Linked DNA regions of Homo sapiens: regions 2 and 3 are each linked to region 1. The links are contacts of gene promoters, found by promoter capture Hi-C in blood cells and fetal thymus (Javierre and others, 2016). All regions are on one chromosome and are shown on one strand. The core of a region is centred on a gene start or on the middle of the fragment in contact, and the rest is flanking DNA. Distances in the headings are between cores, read along the strand shown.

Region 1 (4,706 bases), core at 842-3,341:
ACCTTTCCCCTCGACCACGTCTTTCCCTACAACAATCTCCCGCACCTCCATAACGCGAAATCCCCAGCCGAGGTGCGGCCGGCTCCTCCCAGCCTTGCCCCGGACGTCCCTCTGGCCCAGCCTTCCTCTCGGCGGGACCCCGGCGAGGAGGGCCCCCTCCACCGACCAGTTCACCTCCCTATCCCTTCCCCGGCCTCTTGGCGCCCCTGCAGGGCTCTGTCCCGAAACCGAACCTCGAGGAGCCAAGCCCACGAGGCCAGTCGCGGGACCCACACCCCCCTTCCTTCTCCCAGCACCTCGTCCTCCATGCACCCGGCCCCCGGGGCTCCTCGTCGTCGTCGTCCCGGCTCGTACCGCCCCCCGTCGGGGGCTCCACCCCCCCGCCTGCCCCCGCCCCCAGGACGGCCCCCTCCCCACCGCGCGCCGCCTGCGCCCTCTGCCCCGGCACGGGACTCTCTTTGGCCTCCGTTCCCCGCCCAGAAGCGGCGGCGGCGGCGGCGGCAACGGCTGCGGCGGCCCCAGCAGGAGCAGCAGCGGCGGCGGCGGCAGCGGCGGCGGCAGCAGCGCCGCCCCCGGCCCCGCCCCGCCGCCCGCCGGAGCCCCACGCCCCGCCCGCCCGCCCCGCCGCCGGACTGCTCCCCCCGAAGCCCACCACTAAGCCCTCCCACTCCCCGGCCGCGATCCGCTCGAATCCAGCTCCGCTGGGCCTGCTGTCCGTCCCTCACGCCCCTTAGGACCCGGGGTGGGGGAGCCCTGGGGTTCGCGGCCATCCCTCTCCCTCCTTCTCCAAGGGCCGGGGGATTGCCCCTGATCCCGAAACCCGGCCCCGTAACCGGAGCCTCCCTCCTTCCAGCCCTCGGCTTCGCTCGCCGACCCCTTGCCTCCAGGCCTGGCGCGAAGCGGGTGGAGGGCTTGCACGCCGGATCTCCCCTCTGGCTTGCCGGTGCTAGTATGAATTGCCCCCGATCTCATCTTCCTTCAATTTAAGCCCCCTCCCCGCCGCGCCCGGCCCGGCGGCCCCCGCCCCTAGAGCGAGGGCAGCGGAGCCAGGGCGCTCCGAAGTCATCCCCCGCCTTTTTTCCAGGGACTCGGATAATTGCCCCTGCCCCCATCACAGCACTCCCACTCCCGAACCCAGGCCCCGCCGCCACCTAGGGGTACCCCTTACCCTACGATTCCCGCACCCCAGCGCCGGGAAGAAAGCAGCCCTGAAGAGCACCCGTCGCACCTCCCCTCTGAGGTTGGAGGGCATTTTCTCCCGGTCTCTTCAACACTTCATCACGGACACCCCCCCCCCCCAAAAAAAAGCCTTTTCTCGCCCTGCCCTGCTAGCCAGCCTCCCTTCGGATCGTCGGATCCTTGGATCGGGGGTTGGAGTCAGGTAGTTAACAAGACCATAGCCTCCACCTCCCTTTCCGAGGAGTGGGGTAATTCCTATGGTTTCCCCCCCAGGATCAACCGACCCCCGTTTCCATGGAGACCCCCGCCCAGCCGGGAAGAAGACTCTCTTGGATCGTGGCGAACGAGTCTCACCTGGCTAAGAGAGAAGGGGGTCGAGAAGGGGGTAGGGCAAGTCAGGGGATGGGGTACGAAGGTGGGAAGTGGAAGGGAGCTGTCCCGAAGGGAGGGGCGAAGACATACCCAGCTCCAGGGAGCGCTACGTCCGGGGACACGAAGAGGACGGCGCCCCCGGGGGGCAAGCCGAGCGGCCGCAGGGAAAAGAAGGAACAGGGTTGGAGAAAGGCTTAAGATAGAAAGAAGCGGGTGGGGGGATACGAAAAAGCCGGGGAGTCAAAAGGGGTGGAGGGATTGGGGGAGAGAGAAAAAAGACGCACCTGTTCCCGGGTCGGCTCCGCGGGGAGGCTCAGGCCGCCACCCGGGCTCCCTCTTACTCCCTCTTAACCGCCACCCGCCTAATACTGCCCCGATCTGATGCCCCCCTCCGCCCCTTATCGCCACCGACCTCCTTCTCCTCTCTCTCGGCGGCGGCGGCGGTCGGACTCTAGGAACTGAGAGGAAGAAGGGAGGGCTCAGCAAAGCGGAGGAGAGACAGAGCCACACACTGGCAGCAGCCGCGGCGAGCGAAAGAGTGAGGGGGAGAGCGGTGTGTGTGTGTGTCTGTGTGCGAGCGAAGCCTGGTGGAGTGGGTGCCGGTCGCAGGGCTCGACGGGAAGTGGAGTCCGGCTGGGTCCGCGGGCGGCGCCAACCCCCGCTCCACCGGACTACAACTCCCAGAATGCGGCCTACGCGGGTGGGGGGGAATGGGGAGGAGGAGGCGAAGGGAGGGAGCGAGCAAGAGAGGGAGGGACGAAAGCAGGGAGCAAGCGGCGGCGAAGGGGGCAGAGCCAAGCAGCCCCGGTGACACTGGGAGGGGAGGAGAGGAGGAGGGGATCGCTGAGAGGACCGAGCGGATTCCGGAGAGGGAGGCAGCAGTGGCTGCAGCAAGCCGGGCAAAAAGCTAGACTCCTGGGAGAGGCGGAGGCGCTCAATCTGCGGGGCTGCAGGAGCCCCACGTCCCCCCCCACCTCGACGCCCCTCGAAGGGGGAGGTTGAGGAAGGGAGAGGGTCAGTGAGCCGCGGCCAAAGGGTTCTCTCTCTTTCTTCCAACGTTCTCCACCTTATGCCCCGACCTGACTTTCTCAGGCCACTGGTGCCGATCCAGTGTGCAAATCTCGAGACCCCAGATCTCCTCTGCCGGGCAGCGGAGAACAGACGCATTCAGTCCCCTTCTCCCAGGGGCCTGAGGGAGGCTCCCCTTGCAGGCAGGGCGTGACTCCCCCTTCTTCCCGCTCCCCCCCCCACCGTCGTCGCCACCCCCCCATCTCCCTCCCCGGAACCCCTCCCCTGAAGCCGGGGCTCGCCTCTCTCTCTCCCCGCCAAGACACGGAGTCCTTCTGGGGACGACTACCCAGCCCCCTCCCTTATACTGGGCCCCTACCCACCAGTATCCCCTTCTTAGCGTTGCCCCCTCACCGAAATAATGGTGGGGGCGACCCGAGTTGGACTGGTGGCTACTTTCCCTCCAAGGCTAGCCGTCCTTCGCCACGCCGACCCTGTGTAGAAATAGAGAAGCATATTAATACTCCCGTCCCCCCTCCCCCCCAGATTTGAATACCCGTGGAAGTGGCTCACAAGAAAGAGGGGTTGGTAGTGGAAGTGAGCTAGGGGTGAATCCCAATCTTCAAACCTCATCCCTCCCATGGAAATCCAGGTATTCGCCTTTTGCTTAAAAGCCATTAAATCGCTTGGGTGGGGGGTAAATTATCTAAACCCCAATGTCCATGCGACTCGAAGCGACGCTACCTTGTAGGAATAAGATACGAACTAGGTTGCCGCCACGGGAAGGAAAGTATCCCCCACCCCCGTCGCCGTCCACCCCCAAAAACACATACCCCTAGGAGAGTCAGATGGCTGAAGAAGGGGGAAGGCGGTGGGAGTGCTGGAGAGTAAAAGGACTGTGGCGGGGAGGGTCCGCGGCCCCCACTACGAGAGCAGAATCCAGATGCTAAGAGGTGGGTGGGGGGTGCGGCACAATCGCAGACTGTGTCTTTCCTCGCTTTTCCCGGAATCGCCGCCCGATCACCGTCTAACACTCGGAGTTGCTTACCACTCAGTCCCCTAGCCCCATTTGTGCGCGTGAGGCGGCCAGAGCCCGGGAAGCCCGGGCACAAACTCCGCGGAAGCTGGCCTTCGCTGCCGCCGCGCCGCCGCGGGCCTCCCTCCCTCCGCTCGCGGCCCCGCCGATCTACCTTCGCCCCCGGCCGAGGCCAGACCCCGCTCACAACTCCACGCCCCTACTCCACCCCCGGCTCTCCCTCCCCTCGCCCTCTCCCTGCGGGTCCGGCCCAGCCCCTAGCGCCGCCCCGCCCTACCGCTCGGTCCAGAGCCCAGCAAGTGCCCCGAACTCGCCCCCCGCCCCCACGCCCAGGCCAGTCTGGCCAGGCCTGGTTTCCCCCTCCCGCCGCGCCCCGCCCCCGAATCCACGTCCTACTTCGCCACCCAACTCGGCCCGGTCGGGGTTCGGCCCGCGCCCACGCCACCGGAGTCCCCGATTCGGTCCGGTGTACGGCCACCCACCCCGCCCTTGCCTGGGTGCTGGCCTGGCCCGCTGCCTGCGCCCGCCGAGCCGGCCCAAGCGCGCGGTCCGGGTCCGGGTCCAGGTGCCGGCCTCGGTCCCGGCAGTGTTGCCGCGACTCGCCACGCGGGCTCGTTCCACGCAAGATCGGAACCCACGCGGGGTGGGGGCCGCGGGAAGCAAGTTTCTTTATCCTCCCCCCGCCCCCGCCGCAGGGCCGCACCGTTCCCCCACCACCCCCGCCTCACGGCGCCCCCTTTACCTGGGCAGAGCCCCCGGCCGCTGTCGCAACTTTGCTCTTCTCCACGCCGCCGGGGAAGCGGGCGAAGCGGGAGGAGGGAGGTGGCGGGGGGTGCTGGGATCAGGCTGCTGGGCTCAGGGAGGACACGTGGGGGAGGAGGGGAAGGAGGAGGAGGAAGGGGGGGCGGGCCTGCAGTTCTCGGGGCTCCCCCTGCCAGTCCCGGGGAAGCCGGAACCTCGCCGGGCAGCCGCAGACCCCGCACTGGCCACGGGGGAAGAACGGAGCCACCTTCCTCGGCCAGCCCCTGGCTCCAGGAAGGGGGGGGTCGAGCAACGCGCCGTTCGGGTCGGAGAGCGAAAGATTTCGCTCCTGCTCTGTGTGACTCTCATC
Region 2 (4,706 bases), core at 1,465-3,964, 140 kb before region 1:
GGGGCTGGCCACAGGAACTGGTATCCGATCAGAGAGTGAGACAGAGTCCGAGGCCTCAGAAATTACTATTCCTCCCAGCACCCCGGCAGTTCCACAGGCTCCCGTCCAGGGGGAGGACTACGGCAAAGGTGTCATCTTCTACCTCAGGGACAAAGTGGTCGTGGGGATTGTGCTATGGAACATCTTTAACCGAATGCCAATAGCAAGGAAGGTAGGTGCCTGTCATAACTCTTAGAGGAAGATGGGAAGTACGGCTTAGAAACATTCCTGTAACTTCATCGGGTGCCCTGAGATGCATTGTCCCCCGGCCAGGTCAAATTGTGCCTGAGCAGAACAAAGGTATAGCCTTGGCTCAGGAACATTCTTTTTCACTTGGGACTTGGCTGGGTGACCTGGGAGTTGGCAGGCTGCTTGTTTGGGGTTAGTAGAGAACTGTTCCCACAACTCCCTCCCAGTGTGATATGGGGACTGCCCCAGGTAGCCCCATTGTGTGGGCATGGCCTGAACGCAATGGAGTAAGTTAGGGACCTATTGTTACTCTCTCTCCCTCAGATCATTAAGGACGGTGAGCAGCATGAAGATCTCAATGAAGTAGCCAAACTATTCAACATTCATGAAGACTGAAGCCCCACAGTGGAATTGGCAAACCCACTGCAGCCCCTGAGAGGAGGTCGAATGGGTAAAGGAGCATTTTTTTATTCAGCAGACTTTCTCTGTGTATGAGTGTGAATGATCAAGTCCTTTGTGAATATTTTCAACTATGTAGGTAAATTCTTAATGTTCACATAGTGAAATAAATTCTGATTCTTCTAAATTAAATTCTGTTCTCTTGTCAAGGGGGCAGGTGGGTGAAGGTGGAAAGCCACGCATATTAGAAAGCAAGCAAATTGCAGCACCGACCAAGCACAGGATTTTTCTCAGCCATGTATTCATGCCCTACTCCAGACGCAAAACTCCTTTCATTTCCGAACTTCCCTCACCCCTCCAGACCTCTTTGCACACACCTGCTGTGGCCTCGGCCCACAACACTTGACTCCCCTCCTCTCCTCTCAGGAAGTTCACTATCTCTGAAGACTTTCCCAGCCTTCCAAGCCTCATCCTTGTGTATGTGTCTCCCTGCTAGCCCATGACTTCCTGGAAGCAGAAGCCCTGATGTTAAGGCCTTGCTCATGGTTTTATCTCCAGAGCTTAGCACAGGGTCTGCTTCATAGTAAGTGCTTCATAGATCATTGTCGAATGAGTGAACAAATAAATGTATGGAATAGACTTTGTTTACCTGGAACAACTCCTGTCCCAGAACTGGATTGGGTCCTGCAGGGGACAGAAAGGGCACTTACTACAAATCTGAGTTCAGAGACCTGGTGCTTCACAGTTAAACCTGGAGACGGACTCATGGAAGGACCATCATCTCTTGACTCTTCTGCCTGCTGTCCTCATGCCAGACATCTGTCCTCTCTTAAGCTCCTTTTCTCTGAAATACGCTTATGGGCATACCTCACTTTACAGATTATTTCCTGGGAATACGATTCAAAGTTTCACAAGTCAACTCATTGTTTGGCATTTTAGATTGCTTAACTTTTAAAAATCAAATCTTATTATTATTATTTTGAGATGGAGTTTTGCTCTTGTTGCCCAGGCTGGAGTGCAATGGTGCGACCTAGGCTCATCACAACCTCTACCTCCCGGATTCAAGTGATTCTGCTGCCTCAGCCTCCCAAATAGCTGGGATTACAGGCATGCGCCACCACGCCTGGCTAATTTTGTATTTTTAGTAGAGATGGGGTTTCTCCATGATGGTCAGGCTGGTCTCAAACTCCCTATCTCAGGTTATCTGCCCGCCTCGGCCTCCCAAAGTGCTGGGGTTACAGGTGTGAGTCACCGCGCCCGGCCTAAAAACATCAAATCTTATTTAAGAGGAATTTGTTACTACTTTCAAGAGTCCTGTTGTTAAACTCCATGTATATAAAGAGAAAATTATTACCAGTCTGGATTTTTTTTAAATATTGGGTTTGATTAAGGGCAGTTTCAGCTTCAACCAAATCCCTTCTGAACACTGGGAGAACAGGCCAAATCTCCACCGTAAGAATTTGCAGTACAGGTATACCGAACAATACTATATAGATACAGGTTTACTCAAATGTGATCATATCCAAATGATATATCCAAATCTATATGTAGAAAACTCATCTAGGGTTGCGCACAGTGGCTCACGCCTGTAATCCCAGCACTTGGGGAGGCCAAGGCAGGTAGATCACCTGAGGTCAGGAGTTCGAGACCATCCTGGCCAACATGGTAAAACCCCATCTCTACTAAAAATACAAAAATTCGCCAGGCATGGTGGCATGCACCTGTAGTCCCAGCTACTCAGGAGGCTGAGACAGGAGAATTGCTTGAACCTGGGAGGCGGAGGTTACAGTGAGCCAAGATCACACCACTGCACTCCAGCCTGGGCAACACAGCAATATTCCATCTCAAAAAAAAAAAAAAAAGGAAAACTCATCTAGTATCCTGTGACATCGAAATTATTATACAGCAGTAATTGCTGCTTACAGAGATGGGGGTAAGACTAAGATCCTAGTGTTCCACAAATCATTAAGAAAAGATCAAATTGTGATTTGTCTTGCTTTAGTGTTGTATACAGTTTTGTCAAATTCTTTGACAGTAGTTATCCTTGTATAGTATGTCATTGTAGTTCAGTGGATTGAAATTAAATGATCTATTCATCTAATCAGTGTTCATTGGGTGCCTCCTGTGAGCCAGGTAGATGTCAGAATAGAAACATAGATAAAACATAGCCACTGCTTTTAAGGACCTCCTGGTGTCCGTGAGGAATGCAGACATGTGGATGCAGAACTCCAATACAATGAGCTACGTCCACAGAAGGACACAAAAAGTACTGTGGCCATGCCAAGAATGGAGAGATCAGCCACAGCAGCCATCCTGAGTCAACCACTGCTATTAGACCACTTCCTAAAGCCACCACTTGGTCCATGTCCCCTCCCTGTTTAAAAATGTACAGTGATTCCCTGTCACCAACCACATCAAGTTCAAAGTCTCCTGTAGTACTAAGCCCACTCTGTTTGGCTGACTTTCCGCCTGACTTTTAATATGGACATACACACACACACACACACACACACACACCTGGTTTATTGCCACCTTTAAACTTGTGTTCATGCTCTTCACATCCGGAACGCCATCCCTCCTCCCTTTATCTATCCAAATCCTACTCATCTTTCAAGGCCTACATCAAGTCCTGCCTTGGTGGCATGGTACCAGTTGGACTAGTGCCCATGCATGATTTCTCTCTGAACTCCAGTTGCACTTAGCACCTTTGAGTGTAATTGTTCTTTAAGTCATTCTAAAGGAATTGTCACCTGTCCCAGAGCAGAGCCCATGTTTTCTTTTCAGGATGGGGACCATATTGCTGCACCCTGGTGAAGTGCTGAGCAAGTCCTTGGTTGATTGGCTGGATGATGCTAGATAACAGGGCTGACTGTAAAAATGCACCTCTGTCTTGTAACCTCTGATCTCTGTAATTCAGGTTGTTTATGGGAGGATGTTCAGATCATCACCACTTCACTCAGCTGTCACAACTTGCCACTTACCCAGGATGCATTTAATCTGCCCAAGCCCCTGAGGATCCTGGGGTCCAAATTCTTTCTTTCTTTTCTTTTTTTTTTTCTTTTTGAGATGGAGTCTCGCTCTGTTGCCCAGGCTGGAGTGCAGTGGGTGATCTCAGCTCACTGCAACCTCCACCTCCTGGGTTCAAGCGATTCTCCTGCCTCAGCCTCCCGGGTAGCTGGGATTACAAGCACACGCCACCACACCCGGCTAATTTTTGTATTTTTAGTAGAGATGGGGTTTCGCCACGTTGGCCAGGCTGGTCTCGAACTCCTGACCTCAGGTGATCTGTCTTGCCTCGGCCTCCCAAAGTGCTGAGATTACAGGCATGAGCCACTGGCCTCTAGGGTCTGATTTCTGACTCCACAGACAAGCAGTGCCAGTCGAGGTTTGGCCCTCAATAGCTGGTCTGTGATAAGCTGGGCCACACCACAGTGTGGTGCAAGGCTAGTCCCACCCTGGGAAGAAGAGGCAGGCTTTGCCCAAAGAGCAGTCATCTAGAGCCCACCCATTTGACTTCAACCTCGCTTTCCTTGGCCATTTCATAAACGGTATCAGATGGTCCTTGGCACCACTTAGTGATGGTCCTAACCTCTGCCTGGCTACCTGTAAACCACAGCAGGGGGTGTCCTAATGTTTTTAAAGGTGGAGAGGTGGAACTGAGGGAAGGAAGGAAGTTTGATTGGAAAGGGGTTAGATTAAGCCTCTTAGTGAAGGATGAGGTCAACATTTGTGATTTTTTTTGTTGTTGTTCTAATCAACAGGGCCTGTTTTGGAGACAAGAGGCTTTAAACAGAAAGGGCTGGGGGTGGGACTCCACAGTGACCTACTGCAGGCTGCTTCCTTGAAGGAAAATCAGCAGCTTCTCAAGAGACCCATTTATACAAAGGAACTCTCCCCTCCCTTCCCCCACTGCCCCTTCCCTTTCCCGCTCCTCTCCAGTTTGGCTGCTGCCATATCCCTTCTGTACGTCCTTCCCTGACTCCACCTAAAGCCAGGCACCCTTGCTGCCCTAGAGATTGTTGGGACTCGCTCCCAGTGCCTTGCTTTCTGGGCAGAGGGGAAGTTCTGCTGGGCCCAGA
Region 3 (4,706 bases), core at 1,278-3,777, 140 kb after region 1:
TGTGTGTGGACTGTAAGCCACACCTGAGGTGAGCGTGCTATGGTGTATGTACATGGGTGACCTGGAAATGGAGGGCTTATGCTGGGGTGTGTCCATGGGAGGTAGGAGGGGGCACCTTGGCCAGCCTAGTGGGGAAGTAAAATGAGCTCTGGTCCCTTGGGGCTCATTTTTGTCCTTCTGTGAGGGCTTCAGGCTTTCCCAGTGCACCCAGAGTGATTTTTGGGCTGCTTTGCCAGACTTTTGGGTGGTTGCAGCTGGCTTGAGTAACAGCAGGGGGAGGGAGATCCAGTTTATAACGGGGCTGGGAAAGTAAGGTCAGAGGAACTCTTTGTTAAAGGTCCTTTTGCTGCTGCCGCCGCTACTGCTGACTTTGTGAAGTGTTTAGTGAAGTCAGGCAGGTTGCTGAAGGCTTCTTATTTGCTTTCCAGTTTGAGTTTCCTGAATGAGTGTGTGTGTGTGCATATGTGCACGCACGTGCTTGTGTGTGGTACCAGTGAGCATGTGTAGTCAGGCAGGCATAAGCCCCTAGCATTAAAAATTGTTTTTCCTTCTCCTCACCCTTCTCTCCAAGTATTCCTTGCCTCATTCCTGTCCTGCTTCTTCTTGGAAGTGCAAAGCTGACATCTGTTCTTTATCATTCTTCCTCTCTTTTTCTCTTTTTGTCCCCACCCCCACCTCCAGGTTAAATTTTTATTACAACTATTCCAAACAGAGATGAGCCTTGTTCCCAGGCTTTGAGTTAGTTGGTAGTTCTGGGCCCAGGAAACCTCTGGTTTGACTGGCCAGGGGTACTTGAAATTTGGAGGTATTGCCATTTGTCCCCTTTTGTATCTGGGAGCCAGCAGAAGAATCTGACTGGAATCTGTTCCACTGAGGCCCCTGCAGGCCTCTGAAGAAAACCGCTGGTGGGATGAAGCTTCTAATTAGCCAAGTTACCATTTGACAGAGGCAGGTTGAGTTTTCTACCATGATGACTTCCCCCCGCCCCAGGTTATTTCTTGCATTTTGAAGGGTGAGGTTATTTGTAAAACTTACTTGAGTACCAGCTGTCTGTGTGAAAGACTAAATATTTTTGAAGATAGGGCTGGAGGAGGGAGTAGTGGGAAGAAGAGGGGAGAAGGAAGTAAATGTGTTAGCAGAGGAGTGGAGGGGGGAGGTGGAAATGTGACCACAGAGGAGAGGACCCTGGTGATGAATACTTTGTACATGTGTGGATGTGCGTGCTTGTGTATGTGTGTGTGTGTCTGTCATATACAGACACATAGACACTTTAGGTGGTGGCTGCCTTGTGCCTAGCCAGTGACAGGTTGTACAAGGTACACCAGCATGCCTCTGAGGAATGAAATCTCCTTCTGGTCGGCCTTTTTCTTTGGCATCTATAATTTCCTGTCCACCACATAGTGGGGGCAGGGTTTGGGGAGCAGAATGTGGGCTGCTTTGTTAGTATTAGGACTTAGCGCAGTGGCTCATGCCTGTAATCCCAGCACTTGGGGAGGCCGAGGCAGGCAGATCACTTGAGGTCAGGAGTTCGAGACCAGCCTGGCCAACATGGTAAAACCCCCGTCTCTACTAAAAATACAAAAATTAGCCCCGTGTGGCTGTTGTGCGCCTGTAGTCCCAGCTACTCGGAAGGCTGAGGCAGGAGAATCCCTTGCACCTGGGAGGCGGAGGTTGCAGTGAGCTGAGATCTTAGCCTGGATGACAGAGTGAGACTCTGTCTTAAAAAAAAAAAAAAAAAAGAACTTAGTGAGGCCTCAGGAAATCAGTTGATCTAGCCCCCTGCCTTCAGGCAGGTGAGGGTGTCTGAATAGACAAATGGTGATCTATTTTCATTCTTACATTGTCTAGGAGTAGAGACTCCACATCCTCTGGCTGCTGTATTTTTACCTTGTGGGAAGATAGTCCAAATCTTGAGGCACATCTGGAGCTGCATTTTAGTAGCAGGGTCCTGCTTGCAGCAGGTGCTTAGGAACAAGTGTGAGTTGATTTATAGCTGCCTGCAGCACAGCTCTGGGCCAGCCAGATGGCTTGAGAAGTCTGGTCAGGCATGTGGGTGCCCCTTAATGAAAAACGCATAATGTTAGCAGTGCTGGCAGATGTCCTTTTATTTTTGGATTATGCCTTTACATATCTTCTAGAAGACTTTTCAAATGAGTGACCTGTAATTTTCAGTGGACACATAGTAGATTGAATACATAAAACAAAAAAAGTTGTCCATCCTGGGGCCAGTTAGCTCTGTATTGTTAGAGTGTTTCTTTTTTTTTTTAATTATTTTTTATTTTTTATTTATTTTTTGAGACAGGGCCTTGCCCCATCACCCAGGCTGGAGTGCAGTGGCATGATCTCTGCTTTTGCAACCTCTGCCTCCCGGGTTCAAGCACTTCTCCTGCCTCAGCCTCCCGAGTAGCTGGGATTACAGACACCTGCCAAATACAAATAATTTTTGTATTTTCAGTAGAGACAGGGTTTCACCATGTTGGCCAGGCTTGTCTCGAACTCCTGACCTCAAGTTATCCACCTGCCTCAGCCTCCCCAAGTGCTGGGATTACAGGCATGAGCCACTGCGCCCGGCCTGTTAGAGGTGTTTCTGAAGAAGCCGGGGGGTCTCTCTCGGGCCGCTGTCACCGAGTAGAAATTTGGCCAAATATTCACTAAGCCTCTTGCAACTCCAAGAACCTGAAATTCTGTATAACTCTGTGTCTGTCTGGAAGACTCAAATACACACAAAAGGAGATTATAGATTACCAGTAGGTTGCTATATTTAAATATAATTGTATTCATGGTAAACGTATTTAAGTTTAAAAGCAGAGTGAAAAATGGTATAATGCTTAAAGAAAAAGGATTTTCTAATTAATTCTTAGGGTGAGGTATTTAAGAAATGTGAGTGTGTATTGCTAGTTTCAGCTTTGAGCACATGAACAATTTTCAGTTCTTTCTGCTTAAGCTCTATCCAGCTTGTGCGATGAACACATAGCTACCAGCTTGGCCTGAAGTGTTAGGACACTGTAGCAGAATGCCACTGACAACCTAGGAGACATCCAGCTACTGAAAGGCTATCGTGGTATTCAGTCAAATTCAACTTCCTGATAAAGTGTGATCCTGGAGAAAGGAACAAGTGCACTGTCTCCTGGAATTGGCTTCCAGCTTTCTCTTTTAGCTTTCTGACCTGGCCACTAGTGGGATCAAGGTCCTCAGACTTCTCTTGTGGCAAGAATGACTATGAGACTCTTGACCCCTGAAGCAGAAGCAGTTTGCTGCTATAATCAGTGCTTATGGTCTCACTGTGTCCTCTGTATATGAAGGAAATCTTATCAAGGCACTGTCAGACCAGGTTCTGTCAGGTTGGTCCCCATTAGAGCTTTTGATGTATATATTGGCAGAAGAGTCATTGAATTGGATGAACTGAAAACAGCTTTGTAACACTGCTTAGTAATCAATAGTAATCAATACAAACAATACTTTTCTAGCCTATCCAAATTCTACCCCTCTTTCAAATTCTTTCTTGAGTCTTTCTTCATGAAAACTTTCCAGTAATTTCTGCATTCATTGGGCTAATTGTACACACCGCTCATTCAACAGATAATCACATGACATTTCTTATAGTTTGGAGCTATATGGTGATTACACTTCTCACTGTTGTTGTCCCCCGCAGCTAGTCTCTTTCAAGGTCAGAGACTATGTTCAATGGCTGTGTAGCCCCCACAGTGCTCTCTACCATGCCTTACATAGAGTAGATGGCCAATAAGTGTTGCTGAATTAAAACATTCTAGATGTACTTAAAATTTAACAATCTTGACCCACAGAATCATAGGATGGTAGATCTGGAAAGGGCTTTGGAGACTATCTCCCTCCTTGTGTGGGGTGAGGAAACCAGGCCCACAGAAGTGAGTTTCCTTTATCAAGATGAGTTGACCAGCCAACGTCTCTATACTGACTCAGGGCTTTTTCTTCTAATTTCGACATTTTATCTCATTGTTCATTGTTACCCTTTGGCTATGGAATCCTGAAGATATTCAAACACACATGCTTTAGTAAAGTGTACATAGTACCAAATACTAGGCCAGCATATTCCAGATTCTTGCGAGCTAGTGTGTGTGTTACCCAGTGGCATCTAGGCTCTTTGGGTCTCCCAAGCTTATGCTCCTAGAAAATGAAGGCATCTTTGCAGAGAACTGATGGTATTGCAGCATGGCATTTCTGGTAGCCTTGCAGGAACAGGGAAGCCTATCAGGAGCTTTGTGAGTTAACAAGGGATCATCACTGCTGTGGCCACTCCTGGTCCCTGCTGCCAAGATGAGGATGGCTTGGAGAAAAATCAAGCAATGTGTGCTCTGTACATTGTTACTTAGTGACTTATCCTGATGAAAGGGGCAGTGTGGGCTGGGCGCAGTGGCTCATGCCTGTAATCCCAGCACTTTGGGATGCTGAGGCAGGTGGATCACTTGAGGTCAGGAGTTCGAGACCAGCCGGGCCAACATGGTGAAACCCTGTCTCTACTAAAAGTACAAAAAGTCAGCTGGGCTTGGTGGTGCACACCTGTATTCCCAGCTACTTGGGAGGCTGAGGCAGGAGAATCACTTGAACTTGGGAGGCGGAGGTTGCAGTGAGCCGAGATTGTGCCATTGCACTCCAGCCTGGGCAACAAAACAAGAACAAAACTCCATCTAAATAAATAAATAAATAAATAAAATAGAAAAAAGAAAGAG

The links. Contacts are between HindIII fragments. The CHiCAGO score rates a contact against its expected background, and 5 or more counts as called.
Region 2: a contact is called between a fragment that was not itself captured here and the fragment with the promoter of BCORL1 in region 1, in 2 of 17 cell types (non-activated CD4 T cells and activated CD4 T cells). The highest score is 10.2, in non-activated CD4 T cells.
Region 3: a fragment that was not itself captured here is called in contact with the fragment with the promoter of BCORL1 in region 1 in 9 of 17 cell types (activated CD4 T cells, total B cells, naive B cells and 6 more); the score reaches 8.5 in activated CD4 T cells.

Annotation. Positions count from the first base shown.
Region 1 is chrX:129,980,020-129,984,725 of GRCh38, reverse strand. BCORL1 (BCL6 corepressor like 1) reads right to left here and starts at 2,091. Exons shown (of 14, transcript NM_001379451.1): 1 at 1,964-2,091. RefSeq lists silencers at 1,026-1,262, 4,603-4,672. The HindIII fragment of the contact is 8,398 bases long and covers 1-4,706 here.
Region 2 is chrX:130,125,475-130,130,180 of GRCh38, reverse strand. It overlaps AIFM1 (apoptosis inducing factor mitochondria associated 1), which reads left to right. Exons shown (of 16, transcript NM_004208.4): 15 at 15-211; 16 at 553-819. The coding sequence ends at 624. It also overlaps a transcript of RAB33A not described here. Among named protein-coding and RNA genes, the nearest start is that of ELF4, 17 kb to the right of the region's middle. The HindIII fragment of the contact is 9,973 bases long and covers 1-4,706 here.
Region 3 is chrX:129,836,257-129,840,962 of GRCh38, reverse strand. The region is part of intron 3 of ZDHHC9 (zDHHC palmitoyltransferase 9); the gene reads left to right. Among named protein-coding and RNA genes, the nearest start is that of ZDHHC9, 5.3 kb to the left of the region's middle. The HindIII fragment of the contact is 3,218 bases long and covers 919-4,136 here.